3 separate regions of the Homo sapiens genome follow, and regions 2 and 3 are each linked to region 1. The links are contacts of gene promoters, found by promoter capture Hi-C in blood cells and fetal thymus (Javierre and others, 2016). All regions are on one chromosome and are shown on one strand. Each heading gives the region's core, a stretch centred on a gene start or on the middle of the fragment in contact. The rest is flanking DNA. Distances are from core to core; before and after follow the strand shown. Region 1 holds the start of TNS1 (tensin 1). Region 2 overlaps DIRC3 (disrupted in renal carcinoma 3). Region 3 overlaps DIRC3 (disrupted in renal carcinoma 3).

The links. The method cuts DNA at HindIII sites, captures the fragments that hold promoters and counts their contacts. A CHiCAGO score of 5 or more calls a contact.
Region 2: a contact is called between a fragment that was not itself captured here and the fragment with the promoter of TNS1 in region 1, in 4 of 17 cell types (megakaryocytes, endothelial precursors, total B cells and 1 more). The highest score is 6.8, in megakaryocytes.
Region 3: a contact is called between a fragment that was not itself captured here and the fragment with the promoter of TNS1 in region 1, in 11 of 17 cell types (megakaryocytes, naive B cells, endothelial precursors and 8 more). The highest score is 19.1, in megakaryocytes.

Annotation. Positions count from the first base shown.
Region 1 is chr2:218,001,049-218,004,581 of GRCh38, reverse strand. It overlaps TNS1 (tensin 1), which reads left to right and starts at 1,587. Exons shown (of 33, transcript NM_001387777.1): 1 at 1,587-1,742. The coding sequence starts at 1,710. RefSeq lists enhancers at 302-401, 2,142-2,642, 2,643-3,143. The HindIII fragment of the contact is 26,666 bases long and covers 1-3,533 here.
Region 2 is chr2:217,768,147-217,771,679 of GRCh38, reverse strand. All of the region lies in intron 2 of DIRC3 (disrupted in renal carcinoma 3), which reads left to right. Among named protein-coding and RNA genes, the nearest start is that of DIRC3, 21 kb to the left of the region's middle. The HindIII fragment of the contact is 1,756 bases long and covers 944-2,699 here.
Region 3 is chr2:217,786,141-217,789,673 of GRCh38, reverse strand. The region is part of intron 1 of DIRC3 (disrupted in renal carcinoma 3); the gene reads left to right. Among named protein-coding and RNA genes, the nearest start is that of DIRC3, 2.5 kb to the left of the region's middle. The HindIII fragment of the contact is 2,552 bases long and covers 458-3,009 here.

The DNA of each region.
Region 1 (3,533 bases), core at 338-2,837:
GTGTATCTGAATACTGCAGTCTTTTTTTCAGATGAAGAGTCAGTGTTTCCCCTTCATTCTGGGGTTTCCCAGGTAGATGTCTTGGGTGGTCCCTGGGCTGGGAGTTGGCACAAGTGGCTGGGCAGATCCCTGTGAAAGAGGAGGCTGGTAGTTGCACGGTATGTGGTGCTGACAGACAGCGGCATGGCATGGCCTTGGGTGAGTGGGGGGGGGAGGCAGGGGATCTGTAACCCTTCGTGCATGTGGCCCCAGGGCATGTATAGCACAGTGTGCATAGGAGGCCAGGCAAGAGAACTTTTCTTGCTAAGTGACTCAGTCTAGGAACGAGGTCTCCAAGTGCCTACTCTGGGAGGGCTCTTATGTGTTGACGTGAGTTGGACTGTGTCCTTGTGTGTGTGTGTGTCCACAGGAGGGTGTGGGGCTGAGCCCTCCCTCCTTCTCCTGGACAGCTCCAAAGAACAGAGCGGGTGATTCACTGGCCCCCACCCACCCTCAGTTGGTCCAGCCAAGGCCAGAGCTCAAAGAGGAAGGGTTTTTTTTGGAGGGGAACGTGGTGGTTCCAGACAATGAAGGCCTGGGGCAGACTTTGCTGGATTCCCCCTTAGTGCTCCGTGGGAATACTTTTGGGTTTTGACCCAGCCTCCTTTCCACCCTCTAGACCCCCAACAATTGTCCCTGGGCAGAGGTGGGGGCGAGGGGAGGGGAGGGCTGGTGGGCAGGGGACACTGAGGGGAAGAAATAGGCCTGTGGAATGGTGGGAGGGGAGAACTGGGCCCAGGGAGGGGGAGAGGGGAGGAGGGGGAGGAAGTGGGGAAATGCAAACCAAATGTTGGCCCCGGGTACAGTCAAGAAAAACACACTCTCGCGGGAGCCTGGAGCGGGGCTCCCTTTCAGAAGGGCAGGAAAGGCTGGGACAGATGTTTGCAGGAAAGAAAGAAAGAAGGGGGAAAAAAAAAGAAATAGGAAAAAAATTGGAATGAAACCCACAGCCTGGGGGCAGGGCCATTCTTCCCCAGTCTCGGGCCCTATTTCTTCTGTGTTAAGGCCTGTCCTGGGCTCTGAGCTTGGCGCGTGGGCACCAGAGTCTGTCCCAGTCTGTGTGTGCAAATGCATGTGTGTTCCGAGGAGGCCAGGAAGGCAGGCACGGGTACTCAGAGAAGGGGAGGGGCCAAGGCACCCTGAGTGTGCTGATTGTGTGGGCCTGGGGCTGTCTGTTCATCCATCAGTGGTCTGGAGGGTTCCAGGAGTGAAGGCCCCCAGGCTGGTTTGCCAGGGGCGGGGGTCTGCAGTGAGGAGGGAGGACTCCAGGCCTACCAGCACCAGATCAGAAGACTGAGGAGCCTTGGTGGCACACAGGGGTTGTGTGTCCGGGGGTGGGGGGCACGGCCTGGGGGGGCCCTGCCTCTGGTAGCTTTCCCTTTTCCCTGTCCCCTTTACACCCCCTGCAAAGCAGGGTTCCTGACCCTCAAGGCCACCGGTGGAGCCTGGGAGGAGGGAGGAGAGAGGAGGCTGGGACGAGGGGTGGAGTGGGGGGAGGAGGAGGAGGAGGGAGGGTGAGCTGGAGGCAGCAGGGCGAGAGGCCCAGCAGATGCTGGCGGAGCCGGAGCAGCCGCGGACTCAGAGAGCCCTTCTGCCAGCGCCGCGGGGACTCTAGCTTCAGGGGCTCTTCACAGGCCCTGGGCGTGCCTCAGTGACGGGACCCAGCAAAGATGACGTGGATCTGTCTGTCCTGCATGCTCTGGGTAGGTCTGGCTGCTTTAGCTGCGACGTTACTCTTCCTCAAACCCCCCGCCCCCCACCGGCCCCTGCCACCTTATCCTTTTGCTGAGAGCCCGGGGTCGGGGGGTGTCAGTCTTGAAGGAGGGGCCTTTCTGTCTCTGACCTACAGAAGGACAGACTGACTTGAGCAACCCTCAGCCGGAAGACTTTCCCCACCAACAGGGCCCAGGCCCAGGGTCCCGGGTCAGTACATCCCCTGCCCCACCCCCCCACCCCCCAATGGAGTCCCAGAGCTGTAAGTGGAAGGAGGCCACAGAGAAGTTTGCTTCTCTTTAGAGCCTTTCCTCCCGACTTGCATCCTACAATGGGGTGAAAATTCTTCACCGCCCCCCCTCAGTTGCTGAGCCCAAGATCTTGAGGAGGAGGCAGTGGTGGGGCTGGGGAGCAAAGAATAGTAGTCCAAAATATTAAGTCTGGAAGAGCTGGGCTGTGGGAGAATTCTCAGAGTCCATCCCTTTTATTCCTTCTACACCCAGTTTCAGCTTCCACCCACTGCCATCCCTTCCTCCACAGCCCTCCCCTGCTACCAAGACCTCTCCATCCTGGAGGAGGGAGCCATGGCCCGCTCTTCCCCCTTTCTCTCTTGGCTCCAGGTTCAGGGAGGTGGGTTTCAGGATGGGGATGCCAGGGGGGCCAGCAGAGAGGCCTGGGGGCCACGTGGTGAAGGTTAAAAGTCTTAAGGCCAGACCTGGGCTGAGGCTCCTGGGTAAAGGGGGATGGGAGAGGGCTGCCTGCTGCAGAAGGGCTGGGGGTCAGAGGAGGAGAGGACCCCTTCCTCAGAGGGGCTCCTGTGGGGCTGTCTTGGCCAGGCAAAGGCATGCATGGGGTCAGGAGGGTGAGGAAGTCGTCCCTGGCTGAGGTTACTGTTGGGCTCTGAGAGAGTGATGGCTGGTTTGGGGGAGGGGGCTTCAGGGCTGTGATCCAGATGTGGCCTTTCCTGTCCCTTTCCTTGTTCTGGCCAGTCCTCGGGAGGGCCCTCTTGGCCCAGGCAAGCCCATGCTGGGGGCAGTTGTGGGAACACAAACTCGGGCAGCCAGGTGTCCTCTGGGCAAAGAAAGAAAGGGTGGGGGAGGGGGCCTGGAATGAGGCGGTTTGGGTGGCATGTTGGGCTGGGGTGCTGGGATGGATTGGATTAATAGATTGAGAGTGACTGGGGAGGCCTGCACACAGGATGCATTTGTGGTTTACTGGGCTGGTGTTGACATCTGGGAAATGGGAGCCTTGGCCAGGTTCGTCTCTGTGCTGAGGACAGAGGTAGGCAGGAGGGAGCTCTGCAGCAAGAAGGATGGCAGGTAGACGTCCAGGGGTGACACAAGAAGGATGGCAGGTAGACCTCCAGGGGTGACGAGCTGCTGTGACTGGAGAGAGGGCTCTATAGATCCCTTCAGCTGACTGATACTGGGAAAAGTGCCTCATCCTGGTGAGCCTCTGCTTTCCCGTTGGTGAAATGAGGATTGCAGAGAAACAGGGTACAGAGAGGTAGGGATGAAATTTTGTATCCAATTCCCCAGGGCAGTGCCTGGCAGGTAGAGTGCCCTATGGGTGTTATACCCTCCCTGAGAGTAAGGGGAAGAGTCTGGGGACCAAGGCAGCTGTGAGTGCTGCTTCCTTGAGTGTCTTTATTTTTATTTATTCATTTTTTTTTTAATTGAGATGGAGTCTCACTCTGTCACCCAGGCTGGAGTGCAATGGCATGATCTTGGCTCACTATAACCTCTACCTCCTGGGTCCAAGCAATTCTCCTGCCTCAGCCT
Region 2 (3,533 bases), core at 572-3,071, 230 kb after region 1:
TTCTCTAACTGGTCACGAGATTGTAGTAATCATTTTGGTATTTATCTGGTGAAGTGACCAAAAACTTTATTCCTGAGGGTTTTGAATACTGTCTCTATTGGGTCACTGTATGTTCTATTCATTTTGCTAATAACTGAAGATGCTCCAAAGGATCCTTTGGGTTCTTGACACATTTTCCCCTGCTGCCACCCAAGATATAGCAACCTTAGTCCCCCTTTGCCTTTATCTGTTGATTAGTGGCATAAAAAGAAACAGGTTCCTAGTTCTTTGTTTAGTGGAACCATTTTTAGTTACCTAGGGGAAGAATTTCTCTTTTGGGCACTTATGTCTTGATGTCAGCTGAGCCCAGTGAATGGGAAAAAAAGTTTATAAGGGACCATTAGGTTTAATAGTGAGGGGCACCTCTCCTATTTCTCTCCCTTAGTTACTGAATACACACATTTTCGGCTATGAGAGCAAAAGAACCATATTATTAGTCTCCAGTTCTGAGTATATACTGCATGCTGCAAATGACACCCAACTCTCATAAGGTGTTGAGTGAGTCCAAATTGGAGCTGTGATTGAGCCTTCAACAGGTTTGTTCACTGTTCTATTACTCCACCTGCTTTGGGATGATGAGGTTCCATGATAAGACAAGTGTATGCTGTAGAAATAAGCCTATCATCCATTGCTTTAAAATTATTTTTCCTGGACAGAAACAATGTTGCAAGGGATTGGGAGGGTAATTCAAGTATTCGGAAAGTCCATAGATGCTGCTTTTAGTCAAACTACAACAGGCAGAGAAGACAAATGCATATTCCAGGAAATGTCTATTCCAGCAAGGGTAAATTGCTTCCTCCTCCATGATGGAAGGTGTCTAATAGGGTGGCTACATACTGTACTGGGCACTCAGTATTGGTCTCTGCAGCTGAGTACTCAGCAATAGTGGAAGCTGGATCAAGCTTAAAGGGAAATCCAAGCCCTTGTGTAACCTCCATCCCTGCTATTGTGGCCACGTTGTTAGTGAGCCCATTGAGCAAATACTGGGGTGTCTGGGTAAAGAGGTCAATGGAGATCCATTGAATAGGCCATCTTGTCTACCTGATTATTGGCCGCATTTGCACTTGGTAAGTGTGGTAGGCAGAATAATGGCCACCCCAAAGACGTCCATGTCCTAATCTTTGGAACCTGTGAATGTGTTAACTTACATGGCAAAGGAACTTTGCAGATGTGATTGAGTTAAGGACCCTGAGATGGGAAGATTATCACAAGAGTCCTTGTAAGAGGCAGGTAGGAGAGTAAGAGTCAGAGAAGGAGATGCAATGTTAGAAGCCAAGGTCAGAATGATGCAAATGCTGGCTTTGAAGATGGAAGAGAGCCATGAACCAAGGAATGCAGATAGCCTTTAGTAAGCTGAAAAAGGTAAGTGTATCAATTTTCTCCTAGAGCCTCCAGAAAGAAATGCAGCCCTGCTGGCACCTTGATTTTAACTCAGTGTGACCATTTAGACTCTGACTTCCAGAACTGTAAGAGAATACATTTGTGTTGTTTTAGGCTATTAAATTTGTGGTGGCAGCAATAGGAAGTGAATATAGTAATCATTGTCTTATTTCTGACTTTAACATCAATAGCTTCTGTAGTTCTCTATTCAAAACATTTTATCATGTCAAGGAAATATCCACACATTTCTATTTTATTTGCTTTTAAATTTAAATATCAAGAATGAGTGCAGAATCTGATCAAATGCTCCCCCAGAATGTATGGAGATAATCACGTTTTATTGTTTCTTAACATAATAAACTGTATTAATGGATTTTAAGGAGTTATCCTGGTATTCCTAGAATAATCCCACTTGATCCCATTTTTAATTTTTTGTGCTGAAATTTAAAAATATCATCTTTGAGGTGTAAATAACACCCAATAAGTTGAATTCACTTAAAGGGCACACTATTTTGTCAGTTGTATATAGCCACGAAACTACGACCATAATCAAGAGGCAAAACTTTTCCATCCGCCCCAAAAGATTCCTTATGTCCCATTACAGTACACCCTTCCCTCTACTCCGAGTCCCAGGTAACCACTGATTCTATTCCTTTACATGCTTCATTTTTTAAAGATTTTATATAAATGGAGTAATACTAGATATATGTCTGTGTGTATGTCTATCTATCCATCCATCCATCCATCCATATATACATTTCTGCCTTCTTTTCCTCTGCCTGATTTTGAGATTCTTCCATGCTTTTGTGTTTATCAGTAGTTTGTTCTGTTTTCTTGCTGAGTAGTATTCCTTTGTATAAATATACTATATTTTTTGCTTATTCATTCAGTTAAATGATGGATATTTAAGTTGGTTCCAGTGTTTTGGCTATTAAGAATAAAACTTCTGTGAACGTTTACATACAGAGCTTATTGTGGACAAATGCGTGGATTTCTCATGGGTAAATACCTAGAAATGGGCTGGTGGGGTCATATGGTAGGTGTATGTTAAAATTTTAGTGAAAGGTAAAAGATTTATGCAATCTGAAGAAAAACCAGAGTATGCTGTTTAACTTAAAAAAAAAATCCTGTCACTTCTTGGAAGTGGTTGTATCATTTCTCATTTCCACCAACAATGCATGAAGGTTCCAGTTGCTCCATATCCTCACTAACATTTGGTATTGTCAGTCTTTTTAATTTTAAACATTCTGCTGAGTGTGTTAAGAATCTTATCACAAGCTTTGGGTTTTTCTGCCTATCTTACTTTTATTTGTTTCTAATTTAATTTGGTTGTGGTTAGAGAAATATTCTGTATGATTTTAATTCTTTTAAATTTATTGAGACTTGTTTTGTGCCCAGACTATGGTAAATCTCAGCAAACACATAGTGCACACTTGAAATAAATGTGTATTCTGCAGTTGTTAGGTAGTGTTTTGTAACTATTAGTTAGGTCAACATGGCGAATATTATTATTCAGATTCCTGAATAATACCATTATTTTTATAGATCTTTACTGATGTTTCTGTCTAGTTGCTCTATCGCTTGCTGAGAGAGAGGTGTTAAAAACCTATTGTGATTATGGAATTTTCTATTTCTCCTTTTAATCCTGTCAATTTTCGTTTCATGTATTTTGAGGCTCTGTTGATAGATCTATACTCATTTACGGTTATTAAGTCTCATTGATAAATTGATCCTTTTGTCACTATAAAATTTCCCTCTTCATTTTTTGGTACTATTCTATCTTGAATTCTATTTTATCAGATATTTATATACCTAATCTAGCTCTCTTATGGTTTGCATAATATATCTTTTTGCATTCATTTAATTTGAACTTATTCCTATCTTTATATTTAAAGTGTGTTGGGTTATGTTTTTTATTGTTTATTTTTAAATGCATTTCTCTAACCTCTGTGTTTCCATTTGGATGTTGAGACCGTTAATAATTAATATAATTATTGATATGCTTAAACTTAGGTCTGCCATTTTGTTATTTGTTTTATGTTTGTGTCACTTATTTTTTGTTTCTCTTTTCCTGTTTTTCTGCTTTCTTCTGGATTGCTCAAGCATTTTTAAAT
Region 3 (3,533 bases), core at 484-2,983, 220 kb after region 1:
GTCCCTCCGTTTCCCATCTCATCTGCCTTCTGTCTCCCAGGCAGCCTCCCCCAAGGCCCCACCCCGCTGAGGCACCTGTAGGCAGGGTTTCGGCAGGAGCTGCTGCCAGTGGTCCTCAGGGGAGGATGGACCTCCCTTTTCAAGAACTTCTGAAAACAGGAGGGGCCTAAACTTGGACTGGGGAGAGCTAAGGGAGGACTTTGGGATGTCCATACAGGCAGGGATTCTGTGACCCTTTGGTTTTCTTCTCCCCCGCCAGTTAAGGCAGAGCTGCCACGGGCTACGGCTCCCTCTAGTGGCCAACTTGGGAACCGCAGCCACTCATTGCCTTTCCTGGAAGCGGTCACAGTGGGCAGTAGGCTGAATCAACTGTCCAAGGGCCTGAGAGGCACAATTAATAGACAGCTGGAAGCCGAGAGTCTTCAGGTACTTAGAGACAGGCTGATTATTAAAAGCTTCAGTACAGCGGTGAGGACGGAGACCCACAGTCTCTGTTCCCATTATCAATCATCCCTCGTGGCGGATTGGACCTGGCCCAGATTTTCTCAATCATTTCTCAATGACCACCACTCAGGCAGTCAGCAGTGGCAGGAGCCAGAGAGCTCCAGGGCTCCAGGGTGTGGCTCAGCAGAAGGGGCACTGGACACAACGGGGCCTAGGCAAGATCCTTCCCCTCTCAAAACCCCCATGTCCCGTTCTTTGGGCCTTTGGGACCTGGGTGTCTCTGGGCTGCCCTCTCACAGCCCTGCATAGCCCATGCCCTAGTGCTTGCTCGCTGAGTCTGCAAGGCCAACCTGTCCATTCCCCTGCAGCCGGCCTGCTGCTTGGCAGGGCAGGTGAGCGCCTCTCCTGTGGCAGACGGTGCAGTGTTCAGCTCCACTGGACCTTTCGGGTGATTTGACCTCTGGAAGTTCTATTCCACTCACTCTTGCTTCTCCCCTTCCAAGTGACTACATTCCTAGAGGTTCTAGCACCTGCGGAGATGGAAACAGCTGCTCCCCATCCTCCGGGATCTGGGTCAGAGAACCTGAAATGCAGGCATCTTTATTTCCCAGACTCAGTTATTAGACTTCCCTCTTTTTCAGAGTCAATGACCCCCACAAAAAGAGTGAGCATGAACATCAACCTTTCTCCAAGGACACCCAGGCTCTGATTTCACTGAACTACCCCAAGTCTCTATGAACGTGGAACTGAATCTGACTGATTGAAAGTAAAATTAAAAAGTAAATAGTCCTCTTTTCCCTAAAAGGAGTGGTAGTGGGTGCTTCTGCAGAGGTAGGATCAAAGCACTGAGAAGCCTATTAGAAAACAAGGACAGTAAAACACTCTCTTTTACCTGCAGGCAGAACATGGGGGCAGAGTGCCCAGGCAGAGCAGGATTTGCCTTCACATCCATCCAATATGGGCCCAAGTGTCAGCTTTGCTAGTTTCTCACTTATGTGATCCCGGACAAATTATTTGACCTCTTGTTGCCTCAGTTTCTTCGTCTATAAAATGGGCCAGTAATAACTAGCTGACAAAGTTATGTGGATATTCACAATTCTGTGTATAGAATGCCGAGCACAGTGCTCATGTGACATGGTGGGAGGCAAGTAACATTTACTGGCTGTCTATGATACTGTTGGGCCCTGCATGAGATGCACAGGATGTCACTTACAAAAAACTCAAAATGGTGGCCGTGATCACTCCCATTTCACAGATTAGAAAACCAAGGCTCGGAGAAGGTAAGTAACAACTCTGTTAGTAAGTGCTGCATAAGGATTCAAATCCATCTCTATCTGCTTCCAAAGACTTTGGGCTTATCCAGAATGGTGTAGATAGTGTGGGGGTAGGAGCATGCTGGGGTCCAGGTCTTGAGATGGTGAGAGGTGACAACGTGCTAGCAGCCCTCGCTCCCTCTCAGCACCTCCTTGGCCTCGGCGCCCACTCTGGCCGCGCTTGAGGAGCCCTTCAGCCTGCCCCTGCACTGTGGGAGCCCCACTCTGGGCTGGCCAAGGCTGCAGCCGGCTCCCTCTGCTTGTGGGGAGGTGTGGAGAGAGAGGCGCGGGCAGGAACCAGGGCTGCGCGCTGTGCTTGCGAGCCAGCGTGAGTTCTGGGTGGGCGGGGGCCCGCACTCGGAGCGACCAGCCAGTGCCGCTGGCCCTGGGCAGTGGGGGGCTTAGCACCTGGGCCAGCAGCTGCAGAGGGTGCGCTGGGTCCCCCAGCACTGCTGGCCTGCCCGTGTTGTGCTCCAATTCTCGCGGGGTCTCAGCTGCCTCCCCGAGGGGCAGGGCTCGGGACCTGCAGCCCACCATGCCTGAGCCTCCCCCGTCCTCCCTGCGCTCCCACCGGGCCCAAGCCTCCCCGACGGGCACCGCCCCCTGCTCCGTGGTGCCCGGTCCCATCGACCGCCCAAGGACTGAGGCGTGCAGGTGTGGGGCACGGGACTGGCAGGCAGCTTTGCCCACAGGCACGGCATTCACTAGGGGAAGCCAGCTGGGCTTCTGAGTCAGGTGGGGACTTGGAGAACTTTTATGTCTAGCTGGAGGATTGTATATGCACCAATCAGCACTCTGTGCCTTGCTCAGGGTTTGTGGATGCACCAATCAGCACTCTGTATCTAGCTTATCTGGTGGGGACTTGGAGAACTTTTATGTCTAGCTAAAGGATTATAAATACACCAATCAGTACTCTGTCTAGCTCAAGGTTTGTAAACACACCAATCAGCACTCTGTGTCTAGCTCAAGGTTTGTAAAGGCACCAATCAGTGCTGTGTCTAGCTAATCTAGTGGGGACTTGGAGAACTTTTACTTCTAGCTAGAGGATTGTAAATGCACCAATCAGCACTCTGTGTCTAGCTCAGGGATTGTAAATGCACCAATCAGCACCCTGTCAAAATGGACCAATCAGCTCTCTGTAAAATGGGCCAATCAGCAGGATGTAGGTGAGGGGTGGTCAGATAAGGGAATAAAAACAGGCTGCCCTAGCCAGCAGCAGCAACCCGCTCTCTGCTTCCACACTGTGGAAGCTTTGTTCTTTCGCTCTTTGCACTAAATCTTGCTGCTGCTCACTCTTTGAGTCCGCACCGCGTTTATAAGCTGTAACACCCACTGTGAAGGTCTGCAGCTTCACTCCTGAAGCCAGCGAGACCATGAACCCATCGGGAGGGAGGAACAACTCCAGATGCGCCGCCTTTAAGAACTGTAACACTCACTGCAAAAGTCTGCAGCTTCACTTCTGAAGCCAGTGAGACCACGAACCCACCAGTTGGAAGAAACTCAGGACACATCTGAACATCAGAAGGAACAAACTCTGGACACACCATGTTTAAGAAGTGTAACACTCACCGCTAGGGTCTGCGGCTTCAAGTGTACCAAGAACCCACCAATTTTGTACACAATGGCAGAAGTCATTGAGATCAGAGAAGAGTGGGACAAGAGGAGGGGTAGCAAGGACAGGCCTTAGAGAGAAGAGGCTCAGGGCCCGTGACATCCTGGTGACCAGCTGTCTCACTGTGCCCTTAGCAGGTGAGGCAACTGATAGTATTGGCTGGT